Linked DNA regions of Homo sapiens: all the other regions are linked to region 1. Evidence: promoter capture Hi-C in 16 types of primary human blood cells and fetal thymus (Javierre and others, 2016). All regions are on one chromosome and are shown on one strand. Each heading gives the region's core, a stretch centred on a gene start or on the middle of the fragment in contact. The rest is flanking DNA. Distances are from core to core; before and after follow the strand shown.

Evidence for each region. The method cuts DNA at HindIII sites, captures the fragments that hold promoters and counts their contacts. A CHiCAGO score of 5 or more calls a contact.
Region 2: a contact is called between a fragment that was not itself captured here and the fragment with the promoter of FXN in region 1, in 13 of 17 cell types (monocytes, naive B cells, total CD4 T cells and 10 more). The highest score is 9.5, in monocytes.
Region 3: a fragment that was not itself captured here is called in contact with the fragment with the promoter of FXN in region 1 in 4 of 17 cell types (non-activated CD4 T cells, M0 macrophages, total CD4 T cells and 1 more); the score reaches 7.1 in non-activated CD4 T cells.
Region 4: a contact is called between a fragment that was not itself captured here and the fragment with the promoter of FXN in region 1, in 1 of 17 cell types (monocytes). The highest score is 5.2, in monocytes.
Region 5: a fragment that was not itself captured here is called in contact with the fragment with the promoter of FXN in region 1 in 3 of 17 cell types (megakaryocytes, erythroblasts and M1 macrophages); the score reaches 6.7 in megakaryocytes.
Region 6: a contact is called between a fragment that was not itself captured here and the fragment with the promoter of FXN in region 1, in 1 of 17 cell types (megakaryocytes). The highest score is 5.6, in megakaryocytes.
Region 7: a contact is called between a fragment that was not itself captured here and the fragment with the promoter of FXN in region 1, in 2 of 17 cell types (erythroblasts and megakaryocytes). The highest score is 8.7, in erythroblasts.

What each region holds. Positions count from the first base shown.
Region 1 is chr9:69,033,590-69,037,413 of GRCh38, reverse strand. FXN (frataxin) reads right to left here and starts at 1,662. Exons shown (of 5, transcript NM_000144.5): 1 at 1,467-1,662. The coding sequence starts at 1,631. RefSeq lists silencers at 427-721, 1,304-1,773 and an enhancer at 1,094-1,143. The HindIII fragment of the contact is 18,212 bases long and covers 1-3,824 here.
Region 2 is chr9:68,563,839-68,567,662 of GRCh38, reverse strand. The region is part of intron 2 of TMEM252-DT (TMEM252 divergent transcript); the gene reads right to left. Among named protein-coding and RNA genes, the nearest start is that of LINC01506, 19 kb to the right of the region's middle. The HindIII fragment of the contact is 4,987 bases long and covers 1-3,824 here.
Region 3 is chr9:68,612,783-68,616,606 of GRCh38, reverse strand. The region is part of intron 2 of TMEM252-DT (TMEM252 divergent transcript); the gene reads right to left. Among named protein-coding and RNA genes, the nearest start is that of LINC01506, 68 kb to the right of the region's middle. The HindIII fragment of the contact is 2,145 bases long and covers 1,143-3,287 here.
Region 4 is chr9:68,672,773-68,676,596 of GRCh38, reverse strand. No RefSeq gene overlaps it. Among named protein-coding and RNA genes, the nearest start is that of PIP5K1B, 31 kb to the left of the region's middle. The HindIII fragment of the contact is 7,734 bases long and covers 1-3,824 here.
Region 5 is chr9:68,691,479-68,695,302 of GRCh38, reverse strand. No RefSeq gene overlaps it. Among named protein-coding and RNA genes, the nearest start is that of PIP5K1B, 12 kb to the left of the region's middle. The HindIII fragment of the contact is 3,728 bases long and covers 18-3,745 here.
Region 6 is chr9:68,713,614-68,717,437 of GRCh38, reverse strand. The region is part of intron 1 of PIP5K1B (phosphatidylinositol-4-phosphate 5-kinase type 1 beta); the gene reads right to left. Among named protein-coding and RNA genes, the nearest start is that of PIP5K1B, 10 kb to the right of the region's middle. The HindIII fragment of the contact is 3,615 bases long and covers 97-3,711 here.
Region 7 is chr9:68,742,941-68,746,764 of GRCh38, reverse strand. All of the region lies in intron 2 of PIP5K1B (phosphatidylinositol-4-phosphate 5-kinase type 1 beta), which reads right to left. Among named protein-coding and RNA genes, the nearest start is that of PABIR1, 35 kb to the left of the region's middle. RefSeq lists a silencer at 2,542-2,736. The HindIII fragment of the contact is 583 bases long and covers 1,518-2,100 here.

The sequences.
Region 1 (3,824 bases), core at 413-2,912:
GCTTAATGCAACCTCTGCCTCCCGGGCTCAAGCGATTCTCCTGCCGCAGCCTCTGGAGTAGCTGGGATTACAGGCGCGCGACACCACGCCCGGCTAACTTTTCTTTATTTTCTTCTTCTTCTTCTTCTTTTTTTTTTTTTTTTGTATTTTTTAGTAGATACTGGGTTTCACCATGTTGGCCAGGTTAGTCTTGAACTCCGGACCTCAGGTGATCCACCTTCCTAGGCCTCCCAAAGTGCTGAGATTATGGGCATGAGCCACCGCGTCCTGCCAGGAAATCCATTTTCTAAGTCCTAACTTTTAAGCACTGGCAACCAATCCCAAAGTTTCTTCAAACACAATGTGGGCCAAATAACACGTGTGGGAAGTTCAAGCCTAAAGTACAAACTCCGGAGAGCAACACAAATATGGCTTGGACGTGGCCTGCCTCTTTCATCTCCCCTAATACATGCGGCGTACCAGCCACTCTGAAGGGATCCCCTTCCGCCTTCCTGGCCTTTGCCCAGACGGTTCCCTCCTCGTGAAACACCCTCTACCACTTCCTTGGCATCTTCAAGACCCTCATTAAATACCATGTCCTCCCCTTGAGGAATCTTCCTCATCCCCACAGCCATTCTTTGGGTTTCCTCCTTTCAAGCCGTGGCGTAACTGGGTCAGATATTTCTTTGTACCCCCCAAAGGAAGAAAGGGGAACTAATTTGAAGTTCTGAAGACTTTATCTATGTTATTCCCATTTAATCCTCACACCAGGTCCGCAAAATGGGCGTCACCTTTATCTTCTCCCTACAGAAAACAAAGCCACGTCTCAGAGAGGTTAGGGGAATCCCCCAAGGTCACACAGCTCTGCGGAGTGGGGCAGAATCTGGAATAAAGGTCGGGTCAGTTTCCAAAAGCCAGGGCCCCTGCTGCTCTAGCTATTCTGCAGCTCTGAAAGTTTCACCTCGTTCCAGGAAAGCATTTCGTTCAAAAAAATCCAGCCTTGAAAATATTAGGTGTGCGCGCGCCCGTGCGCGCAAACACACACACACAACACACACGCTATATACAGATACACACAGACACACACATTATGTGTATGTATATACTAGCAGATACCATCTATTAATATTACTGAAACAAGTTATCGCAGAGAAGTGACAAGCATGGAGACAGCCGCACACCCCTCGGAACCGGTCCCCTCCACCAGCCTGCCCTGCCTTCGCCCGTGCCTTGACCCGCAGTCGCACCGCAGGACAAAATGTCCCCTTTTCCTTCGGAAAGCAGAAGCCAGTGTAAATGCAACCGGGAGAACCAGAGAAGGGAGTTGCAAGGCCGCTTCCGCCGGGCCGCCCTGAGAAGGAGCGGGGTGAGCTAGTCCAGCGCGCGTACCCGGAGCGACCCCGGCGTGCGCGGCGCCTCCCTGCGCAGGCGTGCGGCGTGCGGCCCGCGGCGTGCGGCCCGCGGCTGTTCCCGGCGCGGATACTTACTGCGCGGCGGGGCGTGCAGGTCGCATCGATGTCGGTGCGCAGGCCACGGCGGCCGCAGAGTGGGGCCAACTCTGCCGGCCGCGGGACCCGGGTGAGGGTCTGGGCCTGGGCTGGGCTGGGTGACGCCAGGAGGCCGGCTACTGCGCGGCGCCCGAGAGTCCACATGCTGCTCCGGGTCTGCCGCCCGCTCCGCCCTCCAGCGCTGGGTGCTGCGGCGACCCCTGGTGGCCACTGGCCGCAGGCACTCTTCTGTGGGGGAGCAGCTAGAGGTTAGACCTCAGGAAGAACTTCCCAGCTTAGCACTATTCGTGCATTTAACAAAAATGGAGAGCCTGCTTTGTGCAAAGCACGGAGTGCAACCAGGACCCCTGACCCAAGGGAGACTGCAGCCTGGTGGCCCGCCGCTTCTAAAATTCTAAACAGGAGGAACTTGGGAGCTGCTGTCTTGCTGGGAAGTGGGTGCATGCACAAATTGAGGCTGCTTGGCCGCCGGTATGGGTTTACAGCAGTTGGGTATGTGGGGCCAGGAGACGGATGCCTTGTGTAAATCTGTACTCTGCCCACTTCCTAGCTGTGTGACCAGAGGGCAAGTTAATTAACCTCTCTGTGCCTTGTTTATAAAATGCGTTTTATAAAAGTTCCTACTTCATAGGATTGTGGTAAGGATAAAATGAGTTAAGCCCTGTAAAGTTTTTTTTGGACAGGGCATGTTCCTGTTAAGTGCACAATAAATATTGTTAATAGATTTTATTGATTGATTGATTGATTGAGACGGAGTCTCGCTCTGTCGCCCAGGCTGGAGGGCAGTGGTGCGATCTCGGCTCACTGCAAGCTCTGCCTCCCGGTTTCACGCCATTCTCCTGCCTCAGCCTCCCGAGTAACTGGGACTACAGGCGCCCGCCACCATGCCTGGCTAATTTTTTGTATTTTTTTTTTTTTTTAGTAGAGACGGGTTTCACCGTGTTAGCCAGGATGGTCTCGATCTACTGACCTCGTGATCCACCCGCCTCATTTATTTGTTTGTTTGAGACAGAGTCTCACTCTGTTGCCCAGGCTGGAGTGCAGTGGTGTGGTCCTGGCTTACTGCAACTTCTCCCTCCCGGGCTCAAGCAGTCTTCCCATTTCAGCCTTCCAAGTAGCTGGGACTACAGGTGTGCACCACCACACCCAGCTAGTTTTTGTATTTTTTGTAGAAAGGGGGTTTCGCTATGTTGCCCAGGGTGGTCTTGAACTTCTAGGCTCAAACGATCTGCCCGCCTGGGCCTCACAAAGTGCTGAGACGACAGGCGTGAGCCACCGTGCCTTGCCTATTGTTGATAGATTTTAAAAGAGAATTTTATTTCTGTTACATATTACAAAGGGATGCAAATTGTGAAAGTTTTCTTCACATTTTATATATGCTTTAGAGGATGTCAAATGTGAGCCGAGTGTGGTAGTGCATGCCTGTGATCTCAGCTACTCAGGAGGCTGAGGCGGGAGGATCACTTGAGCCTGGGAGCTCAAGGCTGCAGTGAGCTATGATTGTGCCTGTGAATAGCCACAGCATTCCAGCCCGGCCATCATAGCAAGATACTGTCTTAAAAAAAAAGAAAATGTCAGTTGTGTACACTTTCCATGGCAGAGAAGATGGGAAGGTACTAAAGTTCTTCCAAAGCCACTTTGTGAATCGTGAAGAGAGACATGTTTACATACTTAGGATGCTAAATGACAAGTGTCAAGAGGAATGTAAACTAACAGGTGTGAGTGTTGAGTGGGAGATTTATATAGAGCTAGGGATGGGGGAATCAAGGAAGTATTCATGGAAGAAGTGGTGTTGGCACAGGGCCTTCAAAAATAGGGTGGAGGAGGTGGGATCTGATTGCCTATCAAAGAGGTGGTCCAGGGCATTCTGGATGAGAGACATCCTTCTGTGTTTAATTAATTCTAGGCAGCTGCTTAAATACTGTTATGTATATGCCAGGCCTGGAGAAATCATTTTCCCCCTGCAAAGTATCTGGAGATGCTTTTGATTGTCACAACAGGCAGCTGTGGGGTGGGTATGTTCTACTGGCATCTAGTAGGTAGAGGCCAGGGATGAAACATCCTGTGATGTGCAGGACAGCCCCCCACCTGTGCAACAAAGAACTATCCAGTCCAAAATTCTGCCAAGATTGAGAAGCCCTCCTTGAAACCATAAAGGGAGAGCCCATAGGCATCAAAGGGTAGTGTTTTCATTGCCAGCCATGGTCTCAGACTCTGCCACACCAACAGTGAGGCCCTTCCTCACATCATCAGAACTGCATTATATACTCAGAGAGAGAAAGCTGCATCATTAGTTATTATTATTATTATTATTTGAGACAGAGTCTTGCTTTGTTG
Region 2 (3,824 bases), core at 741-3,240, 470 kb after region 1:
GAATCCCAGACTCCACTGGCTCAAGGTGACCCTGGGTGAGACTCGACCCCAGGATTTGTGAAAACCTTGACAAAGAGAAGCTGGCTGAGTAGGATCTGAATTGAGCACAGTGTGTTTGGTGGGACCCCACTGGCAGTGATGACTGCACTTCCCAGCAATCCCTAAATTGGACTCTAATGGGATCATCTTGTTGAGCCTCAGATCTGTCCCACAGCCCTGTGGGTGGAGTGGGGCTTGTCCTTAAGGGAAGGGAAGCTCTTATTCCCAGCCATCCTAGGAAGAGGTCAATCCAAAGGCAAGAAATGAACTGTGGTGGGCCTTAGCCTAGGGTGAGGGGACAACATGGTCCTTTTTCCTGGAGTTAGGGTCTGAGGCGTGGGGAGGCCTGGAGTGGGTGGTTGGGCAGAACTGACTCTGGTTACAGGGAAGATGCCAGGACCATGTCATGAGCCAGCTCAGGAACCCACCCTAAAATGGATGTGGGCCTATGTCAAGGAGGAAAGTTATTTTTTGGTGCTATCTCTCTAGTTTCTACCTCCACGTGCAATGGCAGAGCTTGGCTCTTCTGAGGTGTGGGGAATTATGGGAGGTGAGGTTGGGTGGAAGAGATGTCAGCAGCACTGTGAAAGAGGGGATCTGAGGATGGAAGATGGTGAGCTTCAGAAGGGAAGAGCAGCAGTGTTAGCCCAGCTGAGGAGGCAAAGGACAGCAAGGGCACACCTGCAGAAGCAGAAAAACATCAGCACCTCACACAGCACTTACGATGTACCAGAGACTTTTCCAGGCATTTTATAAGCATATTCAAACCTGTTAACCACCCTATGACACATTATTAGTACCCCCTTTTACAGATGGGGAAAATGAGGCATGGAGAAGTTAAATAACCTGCTCAATATCAGACAGCCAGTAAGTGACGGAGCCAGTAATTAAGCATTGGCAACTTGCCTCCCGAGGCTGGGGTCTTAACCAAATAATTTATTCTCTTCCATACACAATCATTCACCAGGGACAGCCCCAGAAATATTAATACATGGAAAGGCATTGAATAATACACAAATGAAGTTAGTGAATTAGGGCTTTTTAACACAGCAAGTTCTATGTGTATAAAGTATATGAGGCAAACAATAAAACCCCTTGTCAAATCTGAAAATTTCTAAATAACTTACTTTATGTTTAGGAGTACTGTTGTCTTACAGGCACTTCTGGCTGGAATATACATCTTTATATATCTAATGTTTCCATGTATCTATCTTTTTAAAAACACACTCAAGGGTCTACATGCATGTCTAACTGGTAAGGATTTTCTTTTTTAATAATCATCATCTGGCTGGAATTTTTAACTAAACCCATGTCAGTTGAGTGATATTATGTTTTTGTGAAAGCATTGTCGAGAGGATGTCTAGAATAGTTCATTATTAATGTTCCTCTGACAACATGCCACAAAGGATTTTAGAGAAAGACTTTTGATGCTCATTCTCTTAAAACCATTTTCTTTACCTACTATTCATATAAACACCCATCAAAAGCCTCATATTATTTCATTAACTGCAATCTTGTTACTCAATCTTTCAGTAACCAGTAATATAAGTCATGAGGCGACTTGCCTACTTGTTAGAACCAATTTTTTTTTTTTTTTGAGACGGAGTCTCGCTCTGTTGCCCAGGCTAGAGTGCAGTGGCGTGATCTCGGCTCACTGCAAGCTCCGCCCCCCGGGTTCAAGCGATTCGCCTGTCTCGGCCTCTCAAGTAGCTGGGACTACAGGTGCCTGCTACCACGCCCGGCTAATTATTGTATTTTTAGTAGAGATGGGGTTTTACCATATTGGCCAGAACTCCTGGTCTCGAACTCCTGACCTTGTCATCTGCCTGCCTCAGCCTCCCAAAGTGCTGGGATTACAGGTGTGAGCCATGGTGCCTGGCCAGAACCAAACTGAAATGTAATATCCCAGGTCGTAAGTTCAGACTTTACTTCCTCCTGTCGTTTCTGCACCCAGAGGTGATGGTCTGAAGAAGAAAGTCCTTTGGAAAAGTGAAAGTTAGCATAAGCATAGAACTTACTTCCACATCAACTGATTGGGTGGTCTATGTATGATAACGATGACAATGCCTGGCACCTGGTAAGCAATTATTTATTACGATTATTAAATCATCAAATGGCTATTATTATTATTCCTTTTGGGGTCAGTGCTCTCTACTTCGTGGCTGTAGAGATTTTTGTTTGTTTCGTTTACTGCAGAATTGCGAGTGCCTCTTAGAGTAGTACCTGTCACATAATAGGGACTGAATAAATATTTGTTGAATATTAGTTAACATAGCTTTACACCAACCTAATCTACTTATGCATGGGGCAATTTGTGGACAGCAGGGCTATCCTTACCTCATTTCCTTTCTTTGATCCCATTTAAGTTCAGGTCTGCCCAAGTCCTGACCTCTGACTATATCCAGTTTTCATCTGTGCTACTTCCTTTTGGACTTTCAAATTAATCCTGATTTCCTTGGTTTGACCATGGTACCCTATAACAAGTGACACTCTGTTCTTTTCCTGCCTGGTTACTTAAGGGAGGAAATCCTGCCCTACCTCTCACCTTGAGAACAAACTCTACCTCCAGCCTCACTGATTTTTTTCAAATATTTATCAACTACGTAGCAGGCAATCTGCTAGGCTCTGGGGACACAATGAAGAAGAAGAAAGGCAGGTTCCCTAGCCTTTGTGGGATTGGGCTGTAATTTGTTTTCTTAATATATTAATACCCAGAGGTGGGAAGGAACAAAGCCAGGTTCATCCAATGAACAGGTTGCAGAGCCATGAAGAGAGAGAATACGGCCACACTGATTAGGCACCCAGCCTGGCTTCCTGACAAATAGCCTCACCGAAGCAAGTGACCCCCTTACCACTACCCTCTCTCCTCTCTCTCTCCTCGCTTGTGTTCCAGCTGCACCCCTTTCCCATTCTGAATTGTCCAGGTTATGTGTCATGGACCATGATAGAATGACTCATCTTTTCAGAGGGCACCCATCTGCATCAGATTCCACATCTTGGGTTGCTATGTCTTGAGTTGCTAAAATAAGAATCAGAATGTTTCTTATTCTTTGCTCTCTGTGAGTCAAGCCTTGGCCACCAGAAAAGCCCTGGTTGCCCTAAAGAACTTGGAGTCAGCCGGTCACAGTGGCTCACACCTGTAATCCCAGCACTTTGGGAGGCCGAGGCAGGTGGATTACCGGAGGCCAAGAGTTCAAGACCAGCCTGGCCAACATGGTGAAACCCCGTCTCTACTAAAAATACAAAAAACATTAGCCAGGCATGGTGGCACATGCCTGTAATCCCAGCTACTCAGGAGGCTGAGGCATGAGAATTGCTTGAACCCAGGAGGCGGCAGTTGCAGTGAGCCAAGATTGCGCCACTGCACTCCAGCCTGGGTGACAGAGTGAGACTCTGTTTCAAAAAAAAAAGGAGAACTTGGAGTCAGTAGGGCAAAATTGTCCTTCTTTGACCTAGAAGGCTATTGTGTTTATGTTCCTCAGGATGCAAAGGGAAGATGAAAAAAGGAGCTAATGATCATTCTACATTTACTTGTGTCTACGGGCACCTTATGAAAATTACTTTTAGACAGATGCTATGTCTTTCCCCTAAACTAGTGGTTCTACAACATTACAGAATGCCCTGGAAGGCTTGCTAACATACAGATGGCTGGGACCAACTCCCAGACCATTTTTTTGGGTTTTTTTTTTTTTTTTTTTTTTTTTTTTTTTTTTTAGATGGAGTCTTGGTCTCTCGCCCAGGCTGGAGTGCAGTGGTGCAATCTAGGCTCACTGCAACCTCTGCCT
Region 3 (3,824 bases), core at 966-3,465, 420 kb after region 1:
AGGAAGCATGGGACAGATTTGAAAGCAGTTGCCTGCATTTAGGGTTTGAGACCACTGTTTTCTGTTATAAACCACATAGTGCTGTTTGACTCTTTAAAATATGGACATGTACTCACTGTGAGATGAAGGTTAGTTACTATTTAAAAATTAATAAGTACATACCTAAATCCATAAATATTTATATATTTACACAAAGCCCTGGGCTCCAGACCTAGGTCAGCCAGTGGCAATTTCTGTGTCCTGAGTAAGTCCTTTCATCTCTCTGGGTCTCAGTTTCCCAATTCGCAAGCAGAAGGTTTGAACTCTCTGGCTATTGTACCACCATCACTATTATCAAGTGATGATATTAGATATCACTAATTCACTATCATCAAAACACAAACTTGTAAAATATCTTGAAAGTTTACAAACACATTCTTTTTATTTGCTTTTTTTTTTTTTTTTTTCAGACGGAGAGTATCGCTCTGTCACCCAGGCTGGAGTGCAGTGGCACAATCTTGGCTCCCTGCAACCTCCGCCTTCCAGGTTCCAGCAATTCCCCTGCCTCAGCCTCCCAAGTAGCTGGAATTACAGGCATGTGCCACCATGCCTGGCTAATTTTTGTATTTTTAGTAGAGACAGGGTTTCACCATGCTGGCCAGGCTGGTCTAGAACTCCTGACCTCAGGCGATCTGCCCGCCTCGGCCTCCCAAAGTGCTGGAATTGCAGGCATGAGGCACTGCTCCTGGCCCCAAACACATTCTTTTTCTTAGATAAAATACTAAAACAAACCAAAACATTTTAGATTACAAAAATGGAAGTACAAAGGCTTGGACATATTTATTGGCCTTTTTTTTTTCAATGAAGTGGTTTCAGTAGCCAGGCAAGCTTTGTATGAGCTACACTTTTCACTCTAAACAATGTGGATAAATATGACCTTGAGTGTTCTCATTTTCACATGCCCCATTTTTTCTCTCAGGACAGTTTTAATAGTGATTAAACCAGAATTTAGTGTCCAGATGAGCACACGGGGAATAATCTTTTCACTGAAGAGCCCCGTATGTCCATTGCGCACCTTAGAGGTCTTGTGTGGAACTAATGAAGCACTTTGATGGCTCAGGGATTTTCATTAGAGGGAATTCATCTCCACCTCACCTCAAGCTTCATGAGCCATTTCTCTAGCTGTGCTAAACTCCCAAACAAGTAGCAGCAGAGAGCATTTCCAAAAAAAGAGAGATATCAAAGTGGCAGCTACTCCAAAGACAGAGCCTCCCCTCCAGTTTCTGCCTCCTGCAGCTTCTCCTACCTTCTTCTCTGTTCTTTTCATGCACACCACCCACACAGTCCGTTGCAGATGGATACGTGGTTCCAGTGATTTAACCTTACTTTCTCCACTCAGGCCCCTCAGGCGTGATTTGTTCTTCGGAGTCAGAGCTCGCTTCCCCAGCACCAGTGGTGTGGCTGTGAGCAGGTTTTGTTAGCTGGGTATAATTTTTAAAGTACCATTTATTTATCTGGCAAGAGCAAGCCCCAGTGATCCACCTCCATTAAAAGTTCAATCCAGAAGAGTGAATCTGACAGCTCCAGATTTCCGGCCTCAGAGCTCTTGATTAATTTTTGTGCCCAGAGTCTGAGGCGAAAGCAAGGGCGGGATTTCCTGGGTGGCTGTTGGAGGTGCATTTGGAGGCCATTACTGCCCTTCCAGCTTCTTCACTCAATTATGCTGAGCTGAGGTTCGTCACACTTTGCATAAGCGAACTCGATGAATACTTAAAAAGCCTTATTCTCATTTTACACGTGAAGAAACTGAGGCACAGGGTGGTGAAGTGGCTTGCCGAAGTTTGCACAACTAGCAATTGGTGACGTCCGATTGGAGCTGAGGTCTGTGTTGCTCTAAAGCTCGAGTCTTTTCCACTTGGGTTGCGTCTCTCATCTCCTTGAGGGCACTGCCTGCTCTGTGTCGCCAGGACTGGGCTGGAGGTGGCCACTGGGGTTTCATGCAGAGGGTCAGAGATTTGCTGAGTGAATGTGGACTGTCCCTGCTTTGGCTGCAGAAATATCTTTCCTCATTCTTGATCGCCCTCAACTTTTTGAATCCCGGGTACAGGCTGAGAAGTGTCTACAGGTGACATGCAGAGTACACCAGGACAGAATTCCAGTCCAACTTGGTCACAAAATGCATGTGCTTTTATGCCAAGTTATTGGACATGTGTCTAGAGGCATAGAGTGACTTCGCTGCTCTTTAATTGTCTTTTTTGCTGTGCCTTCTGTTTTCATTCCTCCAGCTCTGTCTTCCTGCTTGTGGTGGAACCGAAAGTCTCAGTGTAACCCTGTTCCCTAGACAGGTCTGATATCTTCTTGGCCTTGACACTGAGAACTGGTTTAGAATCTGGTTTGTACTGTCCAACCTTCCAGTTTGGGAAGATAAGTCACAGGACATCGTCTTCTAAGCAGCAAGAGTAGCCCCTGGGATAAAATTGCTGACATCTCCGTGGGGCCTCAGGGTCCTGGGACTCATGCGAGTGCAGGAGGCTCCATGTCTTTGGAGGCTGCATCAGACACATTCTAGCCTCAACTGAATGAAACCTCTGAGTTTGATTTTACATAACTGCTCTTAATACTTACTTTAAAAGAAAAAAAAAAAAAGACCTGGCAAGGACTATAAATGTTTTATTTTAAAGTAACCTTTCTTGGATATATTTTTGGTGGGGGGAGGGCACAAATAGACTTCAAATATATTACATATTCATTGCAGAACATTTAGGAAAAAAAGAAAAGCAGAAACAAGAAAAATAAATATTTTCTATAATCCCAACAACATGAATAATATTTTAAAATATGCATAGGCTTTTATTCTTTATAGACCTATCTATATTCACTTTTCTTTATACAAATGGAAATATGTTGCATTTACTGTTGTGTTACCTGACGGTAGTCTAGTTAACAGCCAATTCTCTCCATTCTGGTTTGTGAGCCAACCCTGATTTTGTTGAGACATAGGACAGCCATGTGCTGTAGGGAAAGCTGGAACCTTCTCCAGCCTGAGGGAATGAAACTTAATTGGTCTAGGTCATTCTTAATCATTCCTTTCACCTTGTCAGTGATGGACTTGGGAGTAAGCATGTGACATTATTTTGGCCAAAGAGACATCAGGGAAGTCCTTAGGGAATGTCTGGGAAAAGTTTCTTTGCTCTTTAAAAAAAAATGACTTGTAGGAAGAAACTTCCGTTTTCAAGTCTGGGTATTGTCTGAATGTATCTGAAACAATGGCAGCCAATTTGCAAACATGGGGGATGGGGGAGCAAGCTTGATGAACAAGATCAGCTGATGAACAAGATCAGAACCAGGACTGCTATTCCTTTGTTAAACTTCTGAATTAACCGATGTTGCAACCATTCCCAAACTGGACATCTTGACAGATGGTAAAATAAATAGCTATATTGTTTATGCTGTTTAAATTTTTCTGTTACTTATAGCCAAAAGCAACTTATCTAACAGAATTTCTCTTGTCATTAGATATTCTTTTTTTTTCATAATAGAAAATATTTTATTTTGAAAGTTTTAGTCATTGGGTCTACAACAGTTTTCCATACAAGGAAAATACAGTATTAAGTTATTTGTAATTGTCTTACATACTGAACAACCAATGAATGCATACAAGTAACAAATTATATGTGTGCAGAGACTAGCATCAAGGAAATACTCATTCATAGATACATGTTTTCTAATAAAATATATTTTAAGTTTTTGATGATCTTCTGCTATCATTTTTGCTATGTTATCTGAATAGCCATCCAGATCTGTAGTAAAAGATCTCGTTAGCTACATAACTAAAGAAGTACTTC
Region 4 (3,824 bases), core at 897-3,396, 360 kb after region 1:
CTGCACCCCCAGCCTCAGCTGATGGAACCGAGGATGAGTGCTGCTCCTACGCTATGGCCTATAGGTTAGCCAGTCCTGCACCATTCCTCCCACCAGTATGTTCTACTCTGATAGGATTGACTATTGTGCTCATATCCTTTCTCATATGAAGTTTGAATGAGAGAGCTAGAAAGAGAGAGTGAAGAGTTGGCAGTGGGAGTAGAAACCAAAAGACATGAAGGAAGAAGACAGTAAGAAAACAATAAGACAAACTGACCCATCAAAAGAAGCAGGGAGAAGGGTCAGGAGAGGAAGCAGGTGGATGGAGGAACCGAGTCAGGACCATAGCTCACTTGCTTTTGAGATTCCAGAACTTTGGCTGCAGGTTTAAAGCCACTGCTCTACCCTCCACTTCATTAGTTCTTCGTGAGATTCTCTGGCTTTGCAGCTTCTGAAAAGATGTTTTTCCTTCTTTTTTGCCATGGATAGCCTTCAAATAAACCCCTTTAACTGAGATAAACTGTGCTGATTTGAAGAGTCAAAGCCGAGATAATCAGAAAAACTTGCATTTTATCTCCTCTAAATTTTCTATTTCTCTCTCAATCTGGATTCACTGACTTCATGACAGTGCTATCAATTAAAGAAGAATAAAAGGGAAGCCAGAGATATTTTCGGGACATGAAGGTCTGATGTTGAAGTTGAAAAAGTCAGGAAAGTGATGGAGTGTGTCCTTCGCTGCATATAATTTGTCCAGATGAACCTCGTAGCAGAATGACAAGATGTCATTGTTCATGTTTGCAGCAGATACAAATTTAGAAGAGTTTATGTGTATTTAGTCTCACTGCTGGAAGAGCTGTTAGAACATGACATGCTATTCTGGTTCCCTCCTGTGAATTCCTGCTATGCTAGAGGGAGGGGAAGAGGTTTTACATTGTGTTCCGAAGACATCTACTTTAAGGAGCTATTTTTCTGAAAAGGAAAGATGATAGCTTCAGTAATACCTGGCAGGCATCTGCAGAGCTCACAGCCATTTTTACCTTATCAGATTTGTCCTTCAACTCCTTGGAGAGAAAAATGAGTGAGCAGAAGAAGCATTCTGTCAATTTTAGAAAATAAGGCTCTCTAGCATTTCTGCCTGATCTCTCACTTTTCTGCTCAGCCCATCCTCATCTCCAGCTCCCTGCGCTGCTTTGACATCCCTGTTTGCGCTCTGGGACTACATGCCTCTGCACCTCCATCTCCAAGTATGAACATCCATTCCTCTGTCAGCCAAGACTTGACTTAAATTCCAGGTCCTTTTTGAATTGGGGTGGCTGGAGGCTCTTTCTCTAGCTACTGAATAGCATTGCCACGTACCAGATATGGCCTGGGAAGACATCTGAACACATACATATGTTCCCAACCAGGTGTTGGGCACTTAGAGCAGGAGTCAGCAAGCTATGGCCTGGGTGCCCAATCTAACCTACTCCCGATTTTTGTAAATGAATACAAAACTCATTTGGATGAATGAACATCTATTAGTATATAGCCACACCTATTTGTTTACATCTATAGCTGCTTTCATGCTTCAGCGGCACATTTGGGTACTTGTCTGCACACCTAAATTATGTACTTTCTGGTCTTTTAAACAATTTTGCTAATCCCTGACATAGAGGAAAGTGACCATGCCCAATCTAGCATCTGATACAATGAAAACACTCTGAAAATTCTTATGGAGGAAAGGGAGAAAAAAAAGAAGGAAGGAAGGAGGCTCAAGGAGATAAAATGAAATTACCCTCAAATCACATTTTGCACAATGAAATATTAGAACAGGATTCAAATCAGAATACACTCAGGACTGGCTATTTCCAGTAAGCAGGCAGGTGGAGGAGGAAGAATTAAAGGGATTGGAATAAAAGTGATTGTTCTAGTTCACTATTGCTGAGTTATCAACTACTCGGAAATGTAACAACCATTTTATTGTATCTCATGATTTTTGGGGTTAGACATTTGGTGGACAGGGTTTGATTGGGTGATCCTTCAGTCCCATGTAGTGTCAATGGAGATGACTTGGTGGTATTCAGCTGGCAGACAGGCTGGTTTTAAAGGTCCAGTTCAGCTGTACTATATGCCCGGTGCCTTGGTGGGTACGGTCGTAAGGCTGGGCTCAGCTGTGGCGTCTGGCTTCAGGATGGTCAGACTTCTTACATGAAGGTTCAGGGCTCCAGGAACAAGCAGTTCAACAAACAGGCAAAAGCTACATCACCTTTTTATGATCTAACTCCAGAAGTCACAAAAAGACACTTCCACCCTACTCTGCTGGTTGAAGTAGTCATGAGCCTGCTTAGATTCAAGGGGAGGGAACATAACCCCCAACTCTTAATGAGGAAAGATCAAATAATTTGTGGCCATGCTTAAACCACCCCAGGGGAAAGAAGATGGAATTGTTGGGGGCAAGTAACCAACATTTACTAAAGGTTTTAGTAGTTATTTCACTACAACCTTCTGAAAAAAGTATTATTCCCATTTGACAGCTTAAAAAATACATTTAAGATTAAATGACTTAATTAACTTACACAAAATGACTGAGCTGGTGAGTTACAGAGCTGTGATTTCAACTCAGGCATAACTCCAACTCTGGAACTTTTTCTATTATATCATGATGTCTGTCACAGAGAAATGAAGAAGAGTCAAGCATGGCAGACAGGGCAGTGATAAGGTTAAAAGGAAAAGCCCATGTCTTTGCCTTCCAGATCTTGGGAAATAATTGTTGGTGGCAGCAGGTGCCTGAGTGTCTTTCTGCAAAGACAGAATGCCCTGGTATAACAACAATAACAACACTTGCTGAAACCCCAGTCTGGAAAGTGCCAGACTGATCGCTTCTCCAATTCCTAGTCAGCTATGCCAGGCAGTCTCTGACCAGAGTCACCACACCTTTGACCACTCAAAAGGGTGATGCTGATAAACTACTCAACTATCTCCTATGCAGTAGGTGACTCTCACATCTTTGTCTTCAAACAGATCCTCTCACACGGGCAAGCTCCAGGCCCCAACTTCAAACTCCCTATAGGCCACATCCACTTCGATGTTCCCGAAGCTCAGACTCAACATGTCAGGACACACAGCATCATTTTCTCTTAGCACACTTCTGCTCCTCCTGCCCTCCTTGGTCTCCAGACCTGTGAATCCTCACCGATTGCTCCCTAACCTCCTCCTGAGGGGCAAGACAATATAGTCTGGTAGATTAGCACATGGGCTTTGGTACTGTGCTGCCTGGGTTTGAGTTCCTGTTGGCCTTAGTTATATGACTTCAGGCAAGTTATTCTATCTCGTTGAGTGTCTGTTTGAGATGATAGACTCTGAGATGGCAACAATAATAGTACCTCCTCAGAGCATTTTTAGAACTGAGCTAATATTTTGAAGTGTTTAAAATAGCTTGTGGCACATACTAGGCACGCAGTAAACATTAGCTATCATAATGCTCAATTAGTTTCCAAGTTCTAGTAGTTTTTTTTTTATATATTTAGGGTTGTTTTTCTTACTACCTTGACTATCTTAGCCCAACTCCTCATGACCTTATCCCCATGTAGTTGTGATTACTTTACAAGAGGGGAGACTCATGCCCTCACTTCTTCTCCATCAATCTGTGCTGCACATAGCTAGCTGAAAAATCTTCTCCATTTATTGGCTTCCTGTGTACTAGGCAATACACCAAGCATTTTAGAGATATTATCTATAACCTTTGCAACACCTCACTAAGCTGAGGACTCTATTATTCCTCCTATGACAGATAAGGACACTGGCCTCAGAGAAAATAACTTGTCCAAGGTCACACAGCTAGTAAGTGGCAGAGTCAAGATAAGAAA
Region 5 (3,824 bases), core at 632-3,131, 340 kb after region 1:
AATAACATACTCAAGCTTCTATTTCTTGATTTATCAATTTCAGACACCAGCTCTTATCTAGAAGAAGGTAGACTTTAAATGTTTCGTGGCTGTAAACTACATGGGAGAAGTCCCATTAAATAAAATATTGAGTCCTATCAACAGAAGAATGCTCTCTACTCGGTTTAATTATGACATTAAGAACTTAATTCAATGTTTCTCAAAGATGTTTCAAAATTTGGCTAAGTGATAACACGATTATCTGAGAATTGACTATGGTAGGTAAGAGTACTGACCATGTTGCCTAGGTACCAAGAATAAAGAGGCCAAATTCTAGCCTCACCTTAAATTCTTCATAGAATTTACTTGAGGGGTGTTATTTAACATATTTTAAGAAGAGAACACATCTACTGATGGGAATCTGTCAGATGATCACTGGAAAGTTGGACAGACAACCACTGGGACTTCCTTTCCACATGGAGAATGTGTGGTTCTAGAACTCTGAGTTTGTAGGGATGTTCTGCTGTCTCCTATTAGCACTGTATCTCAAGTCTAGTCATGGTGATTATTTTGGATCTTGGACCAGGTGGTGAATAGAGGATGGTAAAGTCTAGTTCAGGACTGGGGCATACTGTGGGACAGAGGAGATAGAGAAGAGTGGAAAGGGAGAGTGGCTTTAAGACACACCCCAGGTATTCCAGTGATACATAATCACTTGAAAGAAATGCTTAACCTCAGCAGCAAACAAACAAACAAACAACAAAAAACCCAACGTGAAGCAGCTCTAAATTCCCATTGCATACTCCTTACAAGGGAAGAATAGACATTAGCGGCCTATTTACTATATACCGTGCCTTGTGCCGATGCTTTGCCTGCACTATCTCATTCAATCCTCAACCCTGAAAACTCATTATCCACATCCACAGATAAAGCAACTGAGACAGAGAGTCGAAGTAAGGTCCCTTAAATTACCAAGAGCAAAGTAATAATTCAAAATCCAGTGTTGACAAGGCTTTGGGAGGACAGATACACTAGGTAAATATTGGTATAATCTTCCTAGAGAACAACTAACAAGAGGCATACAATGATTAAACCTAGGTTCTAGTCATCCCATTTTAGAGAATATGCTCTAAAAACAAAAATATGTAATTAAAAAATGATTGTACAAAACTATTCATTGCACTGATATTTTTAAAATGCTATCAGGCAATAAATCTACTAGCCAATAATTGAAGACTGATTTTGTTATAAACTATCATTAAAAAGTGGTCTTATTTGGACTATATTGATGTGCCAAGAAAATTGTACATAAGACAATGTTAAGACAAAAAAGTAGAACCCAACAGATAGTATGTGAACAGCAAACCGAGTATATAAAATGCCATGTATAGTATTAATTTGTCAGATTCACATAGCTCACAAGTCAGTGCAGATATTTGTTAATTAGATTATTTTTCCCATGAACTTAAGTGCATAACAATGTATTGATTTTAAATTCCCACAAGTAATTCTGTACTCTCTAGCACTGGGATTCATTTGCAGGTTTGAAGAAAGGTATGAGAGAAAGGGGAAGAACTGTTAAACACACGCTGAAAGCAAAGAAGGGTTGCCCCGAAAATCTCTCTTGTGAGTTCCTGAAGACTTTTCCTCTGGGAAGCCACGAATTCTGTTGTGATGTCAATAATGCTCTCTGAGGGAAATTCCCTGAAGGGGAAATAGTGATGTCTCTGCCCTGCCCCTGAACCAATATTTATAGACACACCCATAAATATTGTTCAAGAAGAATTTGTGTTGAAAGCCCATGCCTGCAGAAAAGACTGAGTTGTCTCATCTGAACAAACCCCCAACGTAAGACTAAGGTATTATTCCCATTCTCAGCACTGATCTTGCAGGCCCCCATCCTGAGCCTTCCAACAAACTTTCCTCCTGCCTGCAATGCTCTGATATGCCCATTCTACACAGTTTTAAGACCCCTCTTAATTCCTCCCTGTTCCAGGAAGTCTTCACAGGAAGACATTACCACCTCCTGTAATTCCTATAGCACTTAGAATTCACTTGTTCTGCCAACATTTCATAGACACCTGTCTATCTCTCCGTGAAATGGCAGACTCCATGTGGTGAGAAGCCCTGTGTTTTTTAAATTGTTTTTGGAAACTTCATATTACATTAATACTTAACAGAGTGCTTTAAAATACAGCACAAAGTCTTCAAACAATTATTTGTGAAGTTGCTACCTGTTTCTTTCAAAAGAGATCTCTTTTGTCCATGGTTGCTTTAGTGACTGTTAGTGTTTCAAGCATGGATTTGGGAATCAAATATTCTCTCTCACCCTTTTCTTGCAACTTCAGGCAAGTTTCTCAACTTCCTGGAGACCATTTTCTCATTCATTAAGTAGAGATACAAAATATTTCACAGAACTCTAGTAAGGATTAAAACTAGTCATTCTTCACGTGTCAGCTTAAACATTACTTTGTTCAGGATCCCTTTCTTGACACCTCTCCTCACCTCCAAGTTTAAATGAGAAATGTCTCTCTGTGCTTCCAAACACTCTAAACCAGTGCCATCCAACAGAACGTTCAGCAAGAATATTGTTCCATAATCTGTGCTATTTATAGGTAGCCACGAGCCACATGTGCACTTGAAATGTGGTTAATGTGACCGAGGGACTGATGTGTAAGTATTATTTAATTTTAATTGCTTTTAAATAGTCCCATGTGGCTGGTGATGCCCGGACTGGACCGCACAACTCTAAACAATTCCCATTATAGCGCTTGGTTCACGGTTGATTCTCTCCTACAAGATTGAGGTCTGTGATGAAATTCACCTGGACTATGATGCTCCCCATTATATCCATAGCACCTGGGTCAGGGGCTGTTGCACAGTAAGCTCTCAGCACACCAGTTATCATCATCTTCAATGTCATGTTGCCCAACTTTGTATCCCACGGTTTAGCCCAGCACACACTGTAGATGGTTCATCATTGTTTGCTAATTGAGTTAATTGATTTCTAGACTTACAAACAAACCAATAATCTGTTCCTGGACAATATTCAACCAAAGGGGGTTGCATAAATGTCTTTCTACATTACACATTGTATACAGGTATCAAAATATCACACTGTACCGCATAAATGTGTATAATTACTGTGTGTTCATTAAAAACAATTTTAAAATGTCTTTTAAATAATTTCTCTGTGTGCGGCATAGTGGTTAGAAGCCTCTGCCTGGATTCCAACGCTAGCTCCTCCACTTTCCAGCTACATGACCTCTAGTACATAATTTTTTGTGCCTTAGTTTATTAGTCTGTAAAGTGGGGACATGAATGGTCCTGCCTTATTGAGTTGTTTTAAAGATTATGTGTATTGAGGCTTATGACCACCATTTTACAGGCAATAGAGAGAACAAAGGGCTGCAATGAATTACCCTATTAACATTCAAGCTGCAAAATCCAGATTGTAGGGAATGATAGTCAGGAAACTGAGACAGCCACGCTGTGGGCTTTAGGTAGCAAATCTAAGGGCCAAGACACAACTCTGAGTTTGGTCATCTGGAAGCAAGGGAGGAGAAAAAAATATTTGGCATCATTAGCCTTTACAGTAGAGGGAAGCCTCTCAGCTGAGGAAGAAGTGCTGAGTGAGGAGTGGTTGCTGTGTAGCAATTAATAATGTGGGTCCTAAGATTGTTGGTAAAACTCAATTGCAAAGCTGCCTTCAACTTTGTGTGGACTTAAGTGTGGGTAGCATTTTAGCAAAGAGGACCCCGAAGCTTTAAATTCTGCCTGTAGGATGCTGGCATGTCAGGTGCAGGAGATGTGAGTTAATGGTCTCAACTGTTCCAAGAGTAGCA
Region 6 (3,824 bases), core at 655-3,154, 320 kb after region 1:
AGCCTGAACCACCTAAGACAAGTTGGTATTTTTCTCTTATTTACAGTTCAAATTTGACTAACTGGAAAAGCTATGTGCAAAGATTAAATGCAAGCTTGGGTTATGCCAACTTATATTAACCAGTTTTTATAGGATGCTACCGTCCAGTCTCTTATTCTATTCTAAAAATACCTGGATCATAAAAGAGAATCTTTTTTTCAGATTTTAGATTCAGGGGTTACACATGCAGGTTTGTTACCTGGATATATTGCATGATGTTGAGGATTGGGCTTCAATTGAACCCATCACCCAAGTAGTGAACACAGTACCTGACAGGTAGTTTTTCAACCCTTACCTCCCTCCTTCCCTGTCCCCTTTGGAGCTCCCAGTATCTACTGTTCCCAATTTTATGTCCATGTGTACCCAATGGTTAGCTCACACTTATAAGTGAGAACACGCGGTATTTGGTTGCTTCTGTGTTAATTTGCTTAGGATAACGGCCTCCAGGTGCATCCATTATGCTACAGAACATGATTTTGTTCTTTCTTATGGCTGCATAATATTCCATGGTGTATATATACCACATTTTCTTCATCCAATCCATCATTGATGGTCACCTAGGTTGATTCCTTGTCTTTGCTATTATGAATAGCGCTGCAATGAACGTGTGAGTGCAGGTGTCTTTCTGATAAAACAATTTATTTTCCTTTGGGTATATATCCAGTAATGGGATTGCTGGGTTGAATGATAATTCTATTTTCAGTTCTTTGAGAAATCTCCAAGATTTCTCACTGTTTTCCACAGTGGCTGAACAAATTTGCAAACCAAGCAATCGTGCATAAGCGCTCCCTTTTCTCTGAACCTTGCCAGCCTATGTTATTTTTTGACTTTCTAATCATAGCCATTCTGACTGGTATGAGATGGTATCTCATTGTGGTTTTGATTTGCACTTCTCTGGTGATTAGTGATGATAAGCATTTTTTCATGTTTCTTGGGCACTTCTATGTCTTCAAGGAGAATGCTTTAGCCTCCAACTAACTTCTTCCTTAACAACTGCTTCCCTCTTAAATAATTAGGTTCTATTAGCTTTTATATTTAGAATAAATGTTATATTCTGTGATGGGAGAGATCAGACAAACCTATTTAAGTCAAGTTATATGTTATGGCATCCCTTTTAAGTTGAAGCCATATAGTTCTCCATAGATGTGCAGAGCAAGTCAGATGTAACTGGCTGTATCCTTGAAGACAGGAATTCTTTTCAGGACAACCCCCTTTCAACTGCATGTCCATATTCTTTCCTCTAAATAATCATTCCCATTCCTTCACATCTCTTGCTCTGCTTTCCTTCCTTTTACTTTTACAATTCTAATTTTTAAAATAAGTAATCCACACATATGGGTCCAAATTCAGAGGTACAAATAAATATGGGATGAAAATTCCCCTCCCATCCATGCCCCTCAGCTAGCCAATTCACCTCCCCAGAGGCAAACAAAGACACTAGTATCTCAGGTATTCTTCCAGAAATATTTTATATCATGCCTTTGGGGCAACCTTCCTTGGGGATAATACCTGCAGCTACCATTATAGAAATGCGGCTCATGACAGGTGAAATTAGGCAGTGGTAATGAAAGTTGAAGATCAAGTTCATGGACAGGATCGGCAATATGAAGTGGTTCATTCATGATCTCTGTGCATTTCCTTTCTTTAGTGGGAATTTACGAAAAGGATTTTTTTAAGGTAGAAGTATTGGTATTCATTTACTTATTCACTCAAGACAATTCTACATGTGCCGACACTATGGGGATGCAATGGGCCCTGATGATTAGCAGCTGGTGGGGGCGAGGAAACTAGTCAAATAATCATACTGTTGAAGCCCTCCTGGAGAGGGAACCACTGGTCCTGTCCTAGACTGGGGATGGGTGGCCAAGGCCTCCTTTCAAAAGTAACCTTAGAATTGACCTGAAGCGTGGTCGACCGATGCTGAGAACATTCCAAAGGGGGCAACGAGAGTGCTGCACAGAGGGTGTGAAGCTGGCAGTTGCAAGTGTGGCTCAGAAACAGCAAGGGGCAGAGTGGTGGATCTGAGACTGGAGTGGCAGCAGGACCAGGACCGTGCAGGGCTCTGGAACCATGTCAATGACCCACATCTTCACTCCAGGCACAAAGGGAGGCCATTGAAGAGTCTGGGGCAGATCCCTGTGCTTCTCTCTGTCCAGCACCCCCAGCCCCAGGCCCCACTCCTTGGTCAGGAAGTTTTTCCTGCACCCATGTCAACTGGTTCCTGTTATGAGGAAATACAGAGAGAATGATTTTGAGTCATGTTTCTTTATCTATCCTGCCAGTTATGCAAAGCAACCCAGGCCTTTTCCTCAAAGCTGCCAGGATAAGCCACAGTCAACAGTCAGAGACAGGTGCCTTTTGGGAGAGGCTTAGATTTTATTCCTAGACCACAGGTGGTGAATTTCTCTGCTATGGTGGCCACAAATGTGATATTGCAGGGTCCTGGGGGAACTCAGGGGCAGAGTATAAGCAACTGTGGAAGTAGAGCAGTCTTTGGTTCTTTGTTGGAGTGAGTGGAGTGCACCTTGGGAACTGCCGGAGAACTCTTAAGAACTTGGTATTTGCGGTAGGGTTGGGCAAGTCCCTAGAGCTACACTGGAGTTTCCATCCTGTTCCTTTAAAAGTAGTTGACTGTAGTTATGAACCTGCCTCTGACTGGACTCCAGGAGAGCAAAAACATCAGGGTAGAAAGCTACTTGGAAAAACAAGTCCTCAGAGGCTGTCCAAGAGCTCAAAAGGCCACTGAGGTGGAGAGCCCTGGGGTCAGAATTTGTGTGCTTCCGTGAGGGTTTGGCAGGGTACAGGAAGCAGAGATCTGGCCAGCAGAGCCTCAGGTGCCCTCCAACCATCACAAGTGCCCTGGTTACAATATGGGTAATGGATTCTAGGAGACCCAGAGTGGACTCAGGATACCAGAGAGGTTCTGGCTCAGTCCTGCAGAGAGACAAGAAGTTGGGCTAGGATAGAATCCGCACAAATGATGAGAAGCAGATGGAATGGGAAAGATATTCAGGAAGCAAAATCAATAGACATTGGTGATGGATTAGATGTGGTGTGTGCAGAGGGTGGAGCCAAGGATGGCTCCCAAGTTTCTGATCGTGCTACTTGGTGACTAGCGGTGCCCACCACAGAGCTGGGAACCTTGCAGGAGTATCAGATGTGGAGAAAACAGATCATGATTCTGGTTTTGAACATGTAGAATTTGAGGTGCCTTTGGGATATCCAAGCGCAATGTCAATTATGCAAACTAGAGTTCAGAGAAAGACTTAGTTTGGAGATATAAATTTTAGATTCGCTTATGTTCTCCTTTTTAAAACTCTTATTTCAAAACTGTACTTTGAGGTGCTACACCATGAAACAGAGAAAAAGAGTATGGGCTTCATAGTCAGAAAAGCCAGGGCTAGAACCTTTGTGCCATCCCTTACTGGTTCTGTGCTCTGGTACAAGTTACTACTAACCTGACTAGGTTTCCCTTTCCTTCTCTTCAGTGAAGAAATGCTGCAGCTTGGAAGCACATGGTGATGAAAAGAAACAGCACTTGAGGAGTGCCTGGAACAGAGTAAGCTCTCAGCACAGTCAGCCTCCTTGACAGCCAGGACCATGTTTATATTAACACTTTCTGTATACCCCATAATACCCATCACTTGGCAGGCTCTGTGACTACCAAAAGCTTTTTTATATTGTATCTAAAGTCCTAGATACCCAATCTATTCACAATACTTTGCTCTCCTGTGATCCGCACAGTTCTGAGAAAAGCCAAGACTGGCAGAGGGAGAATTTTTCAT
Region 7 (3,824 bases), core at 560-3,059, 290 kb after region 1:
GGCAGGTTCTGGAAGTGGTAAGCCAGGCCTTGCTGCAAGGCCAGATGACAGCTGGACACAAAGGACTGCAGGAGAGGCACAGAGAGGACAAGACCAGAAGAGACATGGAAGTGCTGAGCTCTGGGCCATGCCTGCCATCAACCCCTTAGGTTATCTCACAGCTAACTCTCCTTGGTGTGGGTATCTGTAACATGGGGTGGCACCTCTGCTCCACTTGCCTCAAACTAAGTTCTTGTTAGAAGAGAGTGAGAGAAAAAGACAGAGCCAGAGGGAAAGAGAAAGTGAGACAGAGAGAGGAGAGAAAGGGTGAGGGGAGATGATGATGAACAGAAAAATATACCAAAAATTAAGCCTTGTCTCAGTACTTCCAAAACTCTGTGCATGCCATATAACTAAGAATCTGTTTGTTAAGAGTGAACACACTTTGGGAGGCTGAGGTGGGTGGACCACTTGAGGCCAGAAGTTCAAGACCAGCCTGGCCAACATAGCAAAACCCAGTCTCTACTAAAAATACAAAAATTAGCCAGGCATGGTGATGCATGCCTGTAGTCCTAGCTACTCGGGAGGCTGAGGCACAAGAGTAGCATGAACCCGGGAGGTGGAGGTTGCAGTGAGCCGAGATCGCACCACTGCACTCCAGCCTGGGTGACAGAGCAAGACTATGTCTCAAAAAAAAAAAAAAAAAAAAGAGTTAACACAAAAGAAGAGAGACATGTGGGGAAAGAACAGCTTAAACAAAAGTAACTTTTTAATTCATGCTTTCATTCATTTATTCAACATATATTTAGTGAGCACTGGTTAGTTTCCGAATAAAACAGACATGAATTTTCCTTTATGGGGCTTACCATTTGATGTGAGAGTAAGACACTAAATAGCTTGTATAATTTATTTGGAAACGTTATCATTTATAATATAAGATGTACTGTGAGGGAAATAAAGGGAATTGCGGTAACAGAAAACAGAAAATTAGGGGAGATCTACTTAGGTGGGGTTTGAACAAAGAAGTCTTTACTAAGGAAGGAACATTAAGGAATCCTAAAGGAACAGAAGGAGCTGGCAACACAGAGTGGGAGCAGGCAGCAGAGAGGGAGCTTCCTGGATGGAAGATTCAGGTGGAGCACAGGCCCTTGGAGCAGGATGGAGGGCAGGAGAGGAAGAGGCTGGAGTGAAGTGGACATTCCTGTCTACTCCCAGGAGCCTTTTCTATGCTGTGTGTCATGTGCATCTCCAAGAGCTAAGGATAAGCCCTGCTTCCCAAGAAAGTATTACAGAATGTCAAAATGGGATGTGTCAAACAAGCCGCTAAGATGGATGAGATACCAGGTTCCAAAGTGAAGTGCCAGGCCTAGATGCAGTTTTTCAAAGAACATAGCCCAAAACCTTTTTCACTGGTCTTAAACCTCTTACCTACGGTGTGGCTACAAGTAGGTCAGACTGCTTGTTGGTGGCTAAAAGGAGAGAATGATTGAAGCAAGCAGGCTGCAGTCCAGTCTGGTCCTAGCCTAAAGGACTAAGCTTAGGAAGAGATAAGAGTACCTGCCCCTCCCTGCTTCTCCCCCTTCCAGCCTCATGAGGGGGCTCAACAGGACTACCTGGAGAGCATGAGGCTCTTACGATGTGGAAGGCACTGTGACCTTGTTTGGGACTTCTGCCTAAGAAATCTGAAGAACTGGAGAGCTGGCTGGATGCTGACGGACAAGCCAAAGGAAACGACAGTTGCCCTGGGAGCAGCCTGCCCTCTCCCAGTTGGTGGGAACAAAGGAAGTGTGAGTGTTTCCCATGGACCACACCATGAGCATATGTACAGGGCTATATATTAGGGTCTTCCCAACAAGGGCCACCTGGACAGCAATAGAACCCAGCAGACAGGAGTACGAATGGATTGGTGGGCTTTCTAGAGACTGTGGAAACAGTCTGCAATTAGGCTGAAGAGAGTGCAGCAGCCCCACCAAGGAAATTGGAGGTGAGAGGCCCCCAGAGACAAGGTGAGAGGGTATCTCCAAAGAACCCACAAAAGGGCCCCACAAGAGAAAGAATCAACTCTAAACACCCACAACACAAAAAGAGCTCTCCTATGATACCGCCTGCCTAGTAAAAGCTTTCCTACACTCCTTCCTGTTCCCCACCCAGCCCCTCACCCCAGTCCAGAAGTCATAGCTACTGAGTAAGCAAGAGAAAAAGCCTCCAACCACAGCCCCCTCTCCCTGCAACAGGCCCTAGCCAGGGGAAGGGGAGCAGTTATAAATATGAATGAAGCTGGAAGCTTTAACTATCCCATGATACTAGACATTTTAAATATCTGGCAAATTAAAGTGGGGCTTTTTATTATATATGAGGAATCAGAATAGCCACGTGATATGTTTTCATCCAAAAAACAGGGGAAATGCTTTCCACTGAATAAATTTTAATGGGAGAGTGGGAGACTTGATGAAGTTGTTTTTTCGTGGCCTCCCATGAAACCTATTTGTTCAAGGCAGATTATACATAGAACCCCATTGTGTTAGCACATCTCGTGGAAAATGTACTTTCCAAAAATGAGGCCCAGCATGCCCCAGCTTGAGGATGAAGATCACTGTGGTTTGTGGGTCCACCTTGTAACATTGTCCATCCTTGGCCAGGCCATGCAGAGCCTTCAGTATCTATGGCAACTGAGGCTACGGACCTCCTGCATACATCAGTGGTTCTCGTTCTTACACCTTCCTCCTTTTCCAGGAAGACAAATGTGTTTCAGGAAGGAATCCCTATCACCAAGAACCCCCACTAAGCTCAGCCCTGATCCTCCTGAAACAAGCTCTGATTGAGTTCCCAATATTGTGCTTTATGAGTCTTCTTCTTAGATGTCACCCTAACAGGATTCCCGGTACATTCATCTGGCACCCAGTTGAGAAGGCCAGAGCCTCAACCCATACTCAGCAGGAAACCCAAGGAGAATCAATAGAAGGACAGGGGCCTCTTTAACTCCACCCATTCAATCTCCCATTGTCTTAGTGTCATGAAAAGCAAATCTTAACATGCAGGGCAGTAAAACATGACACAGAACTCATCTTCAATAAACTGGCACTTTGGTTAAGCAAATGTGAAAAGTCAACAGCCACAGCATCCTTATATGCCAGTGGGTTTTGGCAAATCAACATACACTGACCAAGTCTTTCTGATATTGGAAATATTGCTTACCAAATCTACACCATGTGAAAGGGATTTCTCCTCACACATATGCAGTGTTCTTATGAAAGCTCATTCAAAACTGACATTAAAAGACATTTTGGGCCAAGCCTGCCTCGTGCCTGTAATCCCAACAGTTTGGGAGGCTGAGGCAGGATGATCACTTGAGCCCAGGAGTTTGAAACCAGACTGGGCACATAGCGAAACCCCAACTTTATACTGGAATAAAAAATTAGCCAGGCATGGTGGCATGGAAATGTAGTCCCAGCTACTCAGGAGGCTGAGGCAGGAGGATTGCTTGAGCCTGGAAGGTCAAGGCTGAAGTGAGCTATAGTTGTGCCACTCTAGCCTGGGAGACAGAGTGACAACCCTGTTTCGAAAAAAAAAAAAAAAAAGTTTTGGTATTTGGGCTATTTTAAAAATGCACAGCAGAGGATCTGAAGGTTTCTGGGCCTGCTCCCCACTAGGTTCTGAGCTCCTTGAAGCAGGGACTATGTTTCATCCACTTTTGTACCCTCCTAGGGCCTAGTACAAAATCTGGTACATATGTGCGTTCATTCAAAGTCTGACAGCTGATGAGTGAGTGAACAAATGAACATTCTGGCTCATATTTTCAGTTAGATTTGTGTGAATACTATAATTAAATCTGTTTTTAAAAAGAG